Linked DNA regions of Homo sapiens: all the other regions are linked to region 2. Evidence: promoter capture Hi-C in 16 types of primary human blood cells and fetal thymus (Javierre and others, 2016). All regions are on one chromosome and are shown on one strand. The core of a region is centred on a gene start or on the middle of the fragment in contact, and the rest is flanking DNA. Distances in the headings are between cores, read along the strand shown. Region 1 overlaps IQCK (IQ motif containing K). Region 2 holds the start of KNOP1 (lysine rich nucleolar protein 1). Region 3 overlaps IQCK (IQ motif containing K).

Region 1 (3,684 bases), core at 379-2,878, 81 kb before region 2:
AAAAAAAAAAAAAAAAGAGAGAGAGAGAGAGAGAAAGACTGTGAAGACTTGTAATAGGAGGTCTATAGGCAAAAATCCTCAAACTTCTCTGCTAGTGAAAATATTATTTAACCATAAGCACTTATTGTGTACATAGACACACACACACACAGCCCAAACCCAAAACCAAAAACACTATTAGAAAGACTATGAAATACAAAACAAGATGATTTTGGAATTTCAGAATGAACAGAGTACACTAACAATCAGATTAAAATAAAACAAAGAACACTTTCCAAATACTAGTGTTTCAAATTTTTTTTGCATATTTACACACACACACAAACACACACTCCTAAAAAGGCTCAGAAAAAATAGTCTAAGTATGTCAAATTTTAACTAAAGAAGAAAAGAGTAAAAAACATTATCATGGTGGAATATAGGTTTCTAAGTAAAGTTTTTATTACTTTGTAAAAGCCATATATGTTCTTTGTAAATAATTTTAAAAATATAAAACAGAGAGAATAAAAACATCACTCCTTATCCTGCCACTGAACAATCACAATATTTTACATATGTCTTTGTAGCCTATTTTCTATATAAAGTTATTTTTTACATAATCATAAAATAATCTGCACGTGGCATTTTATTCATTTTTCACTTAGTAATACTATGGGCAATTTCCATCTTGTTACCATGACTGATGTTGATTATTTTTAGTGTTTAAATAATACTCTATGGATTAAATTCCCAATATTTATTTTATAATTATTATTATTGAATATTAAATATTATTGAATATTCATGTTTAAGATGCTGCATAATTTCAGGAAGAAAATGCAAATTCTTGATCAAGACAGTAGTGCTTCTATACGGTATCACCGATACACGCTCCATTGACTCATCCAGCCTCCAGCTAGCAGAGGGGTTTTAAAAACCATAGGCTAGGAGCTGGGTAGGCCAGCGGAATTTAAAAATATGTAGCAAGTGGCCACTCAACTACTATTTCCCAAGCTTCTCCAAGCCTCAGATGTCTAATACATATGGTTTTGAATGGTATCCCCGAGTTGTGCAGCGCACAGCCCACACAACTGAACAAACTGGTCCTCCCTTCTCATACCCTCTAGCATGGTGTCCTCACAACTCCACCCTCCCGAGACATGCATCACGCTCCCAATCCCTTCCTTCCTCTCTCTACTTTCCCATCAAAACCTATGGCTAAAGTACACTTGCATACATTGCTGGTGTGCATATAGATTGGTCTAGGGGTTGAACTCCAGCCTCTCTAGAGGGTAATTTATCAATAATGATCTGAACTCTTGAGAAACGGTGCTTACTCTTTGAGCTATCAATTCCAATGCCAGCAATTAATCTGGAGAAAAATCGGACAGGTGTGCAGACATATGAACGAGGATGCTTTTGGGTTTTTGGTTTTCTGTTTTTGTTTTTTATTTTGCTCTGTTTTATTTGAGAGACAGGGTCTTTCTCTGTCACTCAGGCTGCAGTGCAATGGCATTATCAGAGCTCACTGCAGTCTCGACCTCCCAGGGCTTAAGTGATCCTCCCACTCAGCATCCTGAGTAGCTGGGACTACAGGTGTGTGAATTTGAACAATAATGTTTTTCACTGAATATATAGGAGAGGAAACAAGAATGTCTAACCACCTATGATTAAGTTATGACTCAATGTATTCACTGGGTGTGTGTGTGTGTGTGTGTGTGTGTGTGTGTGTGTGTGTGTGTATATATATATATATAAAATAAAATATAGGCCAGGTGTGGTGGCTCATGCCTATAATCCCAGCACTTTGGGAGGCCAAGGCAGGCAGATCACCTGAGGTCAGGAGTTCGAGACCAGCCTGCCCAACATGGTGAAACCCTGTCTCTACTAAAACTACAAAAATTAGATGGGTGTGGTGGTGGGCGCCTGTAATCCCAGCTACTCAGAAGGCTGAGGCAGGAGAATCGCTTGAACCCAGAGGCGGAGGTTGCAGTGAGCCAAGATCACACCACTGCACTCCAGCCTGGGTGACAGAGCAAAACTCCATCTCAAAAATAAATTTAAAAAATAAAAAAAATATATATATATACCATAGAAGAATTAAAATTTGTGAGGTACATCTTTGTGTGGCAATAATGAAACATATTCCCAATATATATTAAGGAGAGAGAGTAGGCTTAAAAAAGTGTTTATAATTGCAATTTTGTAAAAAATGTTTTAAAAATTTCCATATGAATAGAAAAAATTCTAGAAGGATGAATAGTATATATTTTTAAAAAGCTTATATGCATTGCTGGGCACGGTGGCTCATGCCTATAATCCCTACACTTTGGGAGGCCAAGGTGAGAGGATCCCTTATATCCAGGAGTTTGAGACCAGCCTGGCCAACATAGTGAGATCCCTTCTCCAAATTTTTTTTTTTTAATTAGCCGGGCATAGTGGCACATGCCTGTAGTCCCAGCTACTCAGGAAGCTGGGGTGGGAGGATTGCTTGAGCCCAGGAGATTGAGGCTACAGTGAGCCATGTTCACGCCACTGCACTCCAGCCTGGGTGACAAAGTGAGACACTGTCTGTCAAAAAAAAAGACCCCAAAACTTATATGCATTATCTATTTTTTCCACAAGTGATATGCATTACTTGCACAATTAAAAAATATATATACGTTTTAGACAAATTTGCTTGTTGGGGTAGGCTCTCCTCTCCAGCCATGGCCAAGCCTCAAGCTGACATAGGACAGTCTTTTCCTGGGACAAATTGAAATGGCTGCTCTCTACCATTGGGTCCAGATTTTCATTTTGTGCCAATATCCTCCTTTGTGTGCCAGTAATAAAAAGTCTGCATATTTTCATACTGAAAATTTTATTGTCAGGACTCTAGGCTGTAAGTGACCGAAATATATATATATATATATATATATTTTTTGTGATGGACTCTGGCTCTGTCGCCAGGCTGGAGTGCAATGGCATGATCTCGGCTCACTGAAACTTCCTCCTCCTGGATTCAAGCGATTCTCCTGCCTCAGCCTCCCAAGTAGCTGGGATTACAGGCACCCGCCACCATGCCCAGCTAATTTTTGTATTTTTAGTAGAGACAGGGTTTCACCATGTTGGCCAGGCTGGTCTCCAACTCCTGACCTGAAGTGATCCACCCGCCTCAGCCTCCCAAAGTGTTGGGATTACAGGCGTGTGCCACTGTGCCCGCCCTGAAGTCCATCTTTAAGGGGATTCATTGGTATAGCTGAATGCAGGCCCTCAAACGACAACTTCAGGACCCAGCCCCTTTCTCTGCCTCTTACCCCTGCTTGCCTCTGTGGTCATTTTTCCAACAGGCTCTTCACACTGTGTTAAGATGGTGCTGACAGTCTGGCCTCACGGTAACCCCAGTGCAAAGAGGGCTGCTCTGTCCCAGCCACTCCACTGAGGATCCCAGAATGGAGTCTCACTAGGTCTGACTGGGCTGATTTCCGTCTGCTGCCCATCATGAACTAAGTCCTATAGCCAGAAGGATGGAATACGTGTCCAGGCTGCCACAGCCCCTCCACATCTAGGGTGAGATCTGTCCCACCCTCAACCTTGTACTCTGCTGATACCAAGCTGTTTCTCCTTGGGGGTTCCCTCATTTACCCTAGTTCGCCCAATGCACAGATTCTTATTGTTCTCTGCAAGTGGAGATCAGAAATCTCCGTTATTTTATTTTATTGGTTT
Region 2 (3,792 bases), core at 371-2,870:
AAAAAATTAGCCAGGAATGATGACGGGTGCCTGTAATCCCAGCTACTCAGGAGATTGAGGTGTGAGAATGCTTGAACCCGGGAGGCGGAGGTTGCAGTGAGCCCAGCCAGTGCCACTGCATTCCAGCCTGGGCGACAGAGCAACATGCCGTCTCAAAAAAAAAAAAAAAAAAAAAATTTGAGTCCAACAAGAAATTCAGTTACTCAATTGCACTAATCACATTTCAAATGCTAACTAACCACACTTTTTTTTTTTTGGGGATGGAGTCTCGCTCTGTCACCCAGGCTGGAGTGCAGTGGCGCAAACTCGGCTCACTGCAACGCCACCTCCCTGGTTCAAGCAATTCCCTTTCCTCAGCCTCCCAAGTAGCTGAGATTATAGGCGCACACCACCACGCCCAGATAATTTTTTTTTTGTATTTTCAGTAGAGACGGGGTTTCACCGCGCTGTTTCAGGCAGCTTAGGTAGTGATGGTGGCCACACGAATGAAAAATCTGAGTCCTTGACCTTGAGGAGCTTATGGTCTAGTGGAGGAAAAAGAAAACATCCCACCCAACATTATTCATTAAGAACTAGCGCTTACGTAGCTCCTTCTGTAAATCGAGCAGTTTGTGTTTTTTTTTCCCCAATAATCCTTTTGCCCTCCTAAAATCAGGCAGTTTGCTAAGCACTTTTTGTGACTATCTGGTTCCATCTTCTTAACACCATCGAAATAGGTGCCATTATTATGCCCACTTTGCAGACAGGGTCATAAGTTAAATAATTTGCCCAACCTAAGTAACAAATACTGAGTAGAGCCACAAAGGAAGATGTGCTCAACTCCGCCTGGGGAGGTTAAGGAAGGTTTGAAGCAAGAAGGGACTAAAACCCGTTTGTCCACACCATGGTTACTGAACGTGTGGGCCACCGACTACCTACGTTAGGATTACCTGGGGTGCTCTTTTAAAAAGTGCAGATTCCCTGCATCCCAATTTGAAGCTCTGTGGGCGGGGCCTGGGAACCTCCGTTTATAACAAGATCCCCACCCCGGCCCCCGCCCCAGCAATTCCTTTCGGTTCACTAACCGAGGTTTAAGAACCAATGGTCCACACCGCATGGTTCTCTTTATTCAGCTTTCCCTCGCCGTTCCCTTGCCTTTAACCTCACTACGGATCGCGATTGGAGTCCGCGCTGCGTAACCTCGGGCCAGCCTCTCCGAGCCTCAGTTTCCCCATGCGTAAAATGCGGAGCCCGGGCCCGCGGAGCCGCTGCCCGGCGGCCCCGCCCGTCAGCCGACAGGCGCACAGTGGGCGCTCCCCAAACGCGGCCCCCGTCCGGCCGCCCGGGTCCCGCCCCTCTCGGCCAGCCCAGGTTTCCTACCCTTGCAGATCTGCTCCCACAGATTCTTGCTTGACGGCTCGGTGACCTGCCACGACGAGACAGGCAGCTCGCGGGACGCGAGAGACACGGTGGGCACCGGCGTCCGGGTGAACGACGAGTCTGTAGAGCAGCTGGGCTTGAGGCGCACTATGTGGCTGGGGATTTGCCGCGGTGCCGCCATGGCCGCGGTTTCCACGGTAACCGCGTTCGCCGGAAGGCCGCGACCCGGAAGAAGCCGGAACCCGAGAGGGTGGGCCGGCGACTCGAAGTGGACTTCCGGGTCACGGCGGAGCTGGCTCTCACGTGGAGGCGGGGAAATTTCGCCCACCGGTGAGTGCCAGGGCGCGTTGCAGGCGGGCCGGCGCGGGGTGTGGAGATTGCACCAGAGGAAGTGCGCGGCGGGGAAGATGGGGAAATGCGGTCCACCCACATCCCTGAATCCGACCCCTCCAGTCGGTGTGCGCCCGCTCCGGCCTGAGGCCGCCGCCTCCAGAAAGTTTTCCCGCCTCAGAGCCGGCCCTGGGACCCCACGTAATCCCTCCCAGTCTGTTGATGCGGAGGCTTGGGCCCATGGGAGCCTTGGAGGTACGGATCTTACTTCCTGGCTCCCGCGCGTCCTGCTGGTGATCCTGCCGGGGGAGTGGGGTGTTGCTGCACAGGCTTTGGAGTCCTGTGGGCGGAATTCCAGTCTCCGTTTTCCACTTGCTGGCTTTGGAACCTAGGGCAAGTGAATTATTGTAGTCTCTGGAGCTTGCGAGGTCGGGTATTCACAAAGATCTTCACAAGGCTGTCCCTGGAATTTAAAAGCGGTTTTGGAGAAAGCGTTTGCGTTTGCAGGAGATGCACTGTAACGTTCTTTTCCTTTCTCCTTGAAAGAGTGAATGCATTTGGTCGCAGGGCTAAAGAGGAGGATGCTATACTTTTCTAAATGGCAAGAGATGGGGAGAGAAGGGGATTAAGAGTTGACCCGCAACCTCCCGGTGGATTCTTTGTTCTTACCAGATCTCTTGGCCACTCCCCTATTCTGAAGTCGTCTTGGCTCTCTTGACTGCTCCCCTATTCTGAAGTCGTCTTGGCTCTCTTGACTGCTCCCCTATTCTGAAGTCGTCTTGGCTCTCCTGACTACACTATTTCAAGGTTTGCACCTTCTTCTTTGCAAGCTCCTTTATCTCTGCCCACTTATTTAAATGCCAATACAATAGTCCCCCTCCCCCATTATCCGCGGGCAGTACGTTCCTAAACCCCCAGTGGATGCCTGAAACCACAGACAGTACCGAACCCTAAATATAACTGTTTTTTCTTGTGTATACTATCTATGAGAAAGTTTATAAATTAGGCACAGTAGGGCCGGGCGTGGTGGCTCATGCCTGTAATCCCAGCACTTTGGGAGGATGAGGCGGGCGGATCACCTGAGGCCAGTAGTTGGAGACCAGCCTGGCCAACATAGTAAAACCCCGTCCCTACTAAAAATACAAAAATTAGCCGGGCGTGGTGGTATGTGCCTGTAATCCCGGCTACTCGGGAGGCTGAGGCGTGAAAATTGCTTGAACCCGGGAGGTGGAGGTTGCAGTGAGCCGAGATGATGCCACTGCACTCCAGCCTGGGCAACAGAGCCAGACCTTGTCTCACAAAAAATTAGGTGCAGTAAACGATTACCAACAATCTAGCTAGTAATAAAATAGAACAATTACAACAGTATACTGTAATAAAAGTTGCATGCATGTGGTCTCCCTCTCAAGATAACTTCCTGTACTGTGCTCACCTATTTTGGGACCAGGGTTGACCAGGGGTAACGGAAACCTGGGATTAGGTGGCGAGCTACTGTATTTCTTGAAGTCTTGTCTCAGGCTTGTTCTGTTCAAGGCTTATCACCACCCATACATTCCTAACTTTATGTCGCCCGTGTCAGCACGGCCACCCAAACTCCTCATCCATATATATTCACCTGTCCAGTGAACATCTCCAAGTCATCTGTCCAATCAAGCCTGTTCTTCAGCCACTTGCCTTCAGTACCTTTGTCTCAGGGATTAATACCACCATCCTGCAGTTGTTCTTCAGAAATTTTCCTGACAACTGGTAGGACAGGTTCCACAACCTCCACCACCCTGACCTTAGCACTGTCCTTGCTTTTATCACCTGTATCATTGTATTACACCTTATTCCCTCCCACACCTACTTGCTTCTTGATGGGTGGTGTTTTATCTTGTTCATCTCTGTATCCCTAGCATGTGTGCATTCATTCAGTGAGTATGTATTGAGCACCTGCTATGTGCCAGGCACTGAGCAGGACACTGGAAATAAACCAGGAAACAGGGCAGACAGCAATGAATGAGTATAGTTATTCCCTTGACTCTCCAGGTGCGCCTGGAGTGGGTTATGAATGAACTTGACCTGTAGCTCAGGCCTGGCTCTTTGAAGCTGCTAAGAGAGAGC
Region 3 (3,934 bases), core at 841-3,340, 110 kb before region 2:
CTTATCCTTATTCACTTAACCCTGGTTTCTTGCTTTAGTGAAAATATCTCCCCAAAACACTCATGTAGATCCTGCAGCCTTTGAATGGGGCTCTCAGCCTCCTCTACTGCCAAGCCTCCCCTATACTAGTGGTCTGTGGTCACTCCAGTGTCAGGGTGCAGGCTGGGAGGCATAGCCAGACACTGCCTGCTGTCCAGCCTGTGGGTCCTTAGTTACCATGCTGAGAAGCTTTGCACTGGACCACTGTGGCCTATTGGGCACTTGGGTTACAGAACAGCATGGCCTGGGATGGCTCTAGCCTCTTTGGCATCAGGTAGATCCGGGTTCAAATCCCTGGTCTCTGGCCTGACTGGCTGCGTGGACTTGTGCAAGCCATGTATCCTCCCAGCCCCGGTTTCCTCATCTGTACGATGGAGATGATCTCACCTCTCTGAGATACCATGTGTGAGGACTACGTGGAAACATAAGGTGCTTAGTGTAGTGTCTGGCACATGGCATAAGCTCCATCGCTCGTAGCTACTCCTTAGTTGCAGACATCCTTCTTTGCTCTCGGCAATGCACCCAATTACATGGGCTAGGAAGGAAAGAACTAAGTTCCAGCATATCTTATGTATTTATTTATTCTGAGATGAGGTCTTGCTCATTACCCAGGCTGGTGTGCAGTGGTGCAGTCACCGCTCAGTGCAGCCTCGGGTTCCTAGGCTCAAGCAATCCTCCCACCTCAGCTTCCTGAGTAGCTGGGACTACAGGAGTGTGCTAGCACGCCTGGCTAATTTTATTTTTTGTAGAGACGGGGTCTCATTGTGTTGCCCAGGCTGGTCTCGAACTCCTAGGCTCAAGCAATTCTCCCACCTTGGCCTCCCAAAGCACTGGGATTACAGCTGTGACCACAGCCTCCAGCAAATCCTAAGGTCACAAGCAGGTGGGGCGGTAAGATGAGGTGTTCATCTTAAGAATAGCCTTTAAACCACAGGGAAATCCTAATCGCTAGGATTTGTCATTGTGGTCTAAATTAAAATTAGGGAAAAGAACTTTCTCTGGTCTCCACCCTCTACTCTGGGCTTTCATGTTTTCCCTCTAGAAGGAAACACTGCTCTAAGAAACTTACTATATTTGGGAATAAAATGGTGTTCAGTATGTTATAGTGTCCTCTTTATGAAAGAAAAATCAAGTCTCAGCTCCAGGAAGGTGTGCTTCCAAGAAACTCACTTAATCTTGAGGACACAATAAATCATTAATAATCGTATTTCCTTTATTGTTGTGGCTTCCTGGAAGCTCAGAGCCATATTTCTATTCACTATAGGAACATTTTTGAGGCCATGATTCACATTGCATAATGTATTAGGGAAGCGCTGAGTATTTCCCGAACAAATGGCCCTTTGTCTTTTTTCTTATGGACACTGTGAATTTATGTAATAGATTCTATTTCCATCTTACTTTGGCAGGTTTTCCTAAGAAACTTCTATGTTGGTCAAAGGGTACAAACTTTCAGTTATAAGATGAATAAGTTCTGGGGATCTAATGTAAAGTATGGTAACTACAGTTAATAATACTGAATTGTTTATTTAAAAATTGGTAAGAGAGCAGATTTTAAGTGTCCTCACCACACACATACACACACACAAATCGTAACTAAGGGTGATAGATGTGTTCATTAATTTGATCATAGTAATCATTACACAGTATGTATGATACGGCTTGGCTCTGTGTCCCCACCCAAATTTCATCTTGAATTGTAATCCCCATGTGTGGAAGGAGGGATCTGGTGGGAGGTGACTGGATCATGGGGGAGGTTTCCCCCATACTGTTCTTATGATAGTGAGTGAGTTCTCATGAGATCTGATGGTTTATGTTTGACAGTTCCCCCCTCACTCTCTCTCTCTCCTGCCGCCATATAAGACGTGCCTTGCTTCCCTTTTGCCTTCCGCCATGATTTTAAGTTTCCTGAGACCTCCCAGCCATGCAGAACTGTAAGTCAATTAAACCTCTTTTCTTTATAAATTACCCAGTCTCAGGTATTCTTTATAGCAGTGTGAAAATGGACTAATACAGTATACGAATATTAAATCATCATGTTGCACACCTTGAATATATATAATTTGTATTTGTCAGCCTAGGCCTTGAAGTTAAGTATTTTACTTACAGAACTGAGTGGCTTTATTTTTTTCCCTAATCTTAATTATTCCTTAATTACCACCTTTACCTAAAAATATCATATTGTGTGTATTTCCGTAACTACTAAAAACCACTCTTGGAATGAAGTAGGAAATAAAACAGTTAAGCAAACAAAAAGTAGACAATTCATTTCCTTTGACAGATCAATCTCTCCAAGTCTCTGCCTTTTCTTCAAAACGTTAAGAAGTGATAGTTATTTAGAGATTATTTGTGCATATATAAAGAATATACACACAAACACATACATGATAAATTTATCTGATGATATATATGATGTATATATATGTGTGTGCATATATATATACACACACATAGGTAATGTAATCTGATGTTATGGGAACAATTTCTATGGTTTCTTTCTCCCTGCTCATACTAGATTTCTAAATAAAATATGGATATTCAATTACAAAGCACATTTGAAAACAATTACTGACTATGTGAGGCTAAAAATATGCTATTAATCGAGACACGATATTTTTTACTACATCTCAAAAATGACTTGGGCATCTTATTTTAAACTACATTGGCTGAAATTCTTACCATACACGTTTTAAAATAATTCCTGCATCTGTCCTGATGGATAGAGACTTGAAGATAACTTCACACCGCTTCCATCCTAGAAGAAAATACTGTTTGGGACAGTCAGTCTCTGACTCACTGTAATGTGAGACAGGCTATATATGACCACAATTCCACCCCGACAGCTGATGTGACTCTCCCTCAGACCTCCTGACTGCCCAAGGTTGCTCTAAGCTATGAACTTGGTAAAATCTCTTTGTACTGTAAATGCCGGAGCACAATGTGGATAAAATGGCAACAACTTAAAAAGATATGCCTGTCTCCTGGATTTGTACATAGATGAGCTTTTTTTTTTTTTAATGAAGTTGAAAAACCATTTTCATTTGCAATCACTCCACTATTTTTTATTGCAAGTCTAAAGGAGAACTAGCATGTGCTTAACATCCATTTTCAAACTGCTTCACTGCAAGCCTTTGAGGTCTAATTGAGGTGTCACCTTGGCTGGGGAGATTTATTTTGTAACCCCCCACACTACCCAGATTCATAAGGTTTAAAATAGGAAGTAACTCTAGCGCATGAGCTTAACAAAGTGATTCAACTCGGCGACAGTTAAAGGGAACAAGAAGTTCTGCTTCACCTGGTGTGCAGCAGGTTGTACTCTGCTTCTCGTAATTCAGCCCCTAGCTGGAGGCTTCAGTCCATGAAAACATAAACAGCAAGAACCCTGAAGCCCAGAGAGGAAACTGAACAGGTCATATGTCATGTTCCAGAAGATTCCTGAGAAGCTGGGTCTGAGAGCAGAATCTAAGAGAATGTCTTAGCTCTCTGCATCTGTCCTCCAGGATATGTTAGAACACTGGACAGAGAAAGGGAAGTCCTGGGCCCAGCCCCAGGCTCTCCTCTGCTGTGTGACCTTGGGCAAGTCATTCAATCTTGCTGGAACTTCATTTCTTCATATGTAAAATGAAGCCCAGAGCTTCATCCCCTAAATATGTTCAGACCATCTGCTCTGTGCCAGGCTCATGATGAATAAGACAAACACGGTCCTACATGAAAGCCCATGGAGCTTGGAGTCTATTGGAAGAAATCAACACAAATATTTTAATAATACTATCATGACAATAACTAACATTTATGGGAACTATGTGCCAGGACTTGTTCTAAAGATCATCATCTCTTATAATCTTGTAATAACACTTGTACGAGATAGACACTATTATTACTAGTCCCATTTTGCACA

Evidence for each region. The method cuts DNA at HindIII sites, captures the fragments that hold promoters and counts their contacts. A CHiCAGO score of 5 or more calls a contact.
Region 1: a fragment that was not itself captured here is called in contact with the fragment with the promoter of KNOP1 in region 2 in 1 of 17 cell types (endothelial precursors); the score reaches 7.2 in endothelial precursors.
Region 3: a fragment that was not itself captured here is called in contact with the fragment with the promoter of KNOP1 in region 2 in 1 of 17 cell types (endothelial precursors); the score reaches 6.3 in endothelial precursors.

The regions. Positions count from the first base shown.
Region 1 is chr16:19,797,635-19,801,318 of GRCh38, reverse strand. The region is part of intron 7 of IQCK (IQ motif containing K); the gene reads right to left. Among named protein-coding and RNA genes, the nearest start is that of IQCK-AS1, 33 kb to the right of the region's middle. The HindIII fragment of the contact is 1,266 bases long and covers 996-2,261 here.
Region 2 is chr16:19,716,055-19,719,846 of GRCh38, reverse strand. It overlaps KNOP1 (lysine rich nucleolar protein 1), which reads left to right and starts at 1,620. Exons shown (of 5, transcript NM_001012991.3): 1 at 1,620-1,689. It overlaps IQCK (IQ motif containing K), which reads right to left and starts at 1,576. Exons shown (of 9, transcript NM_153208.3): 1 at 1,360-1,576. The coding sequence starts at 1,540. RefSeq lists an enhancer at 1,367-1,696. The HindIII fragment of the contact is 12,693 bases long and covers 1-3,792 here.
Region 3 is chr16:19,830,778-19,834,711 of GRCh38, reverse strand. All of the region lies in intron 8 of IQCK (IQ motif containing K), which reads right to left. Among named protein-coding and RNA genes, the nearest start is that of GPRC5B, 52 kb to the left of the region's middle. The HindIII fragment of the contact is 3,720 bases long and covers 231-3,934 here.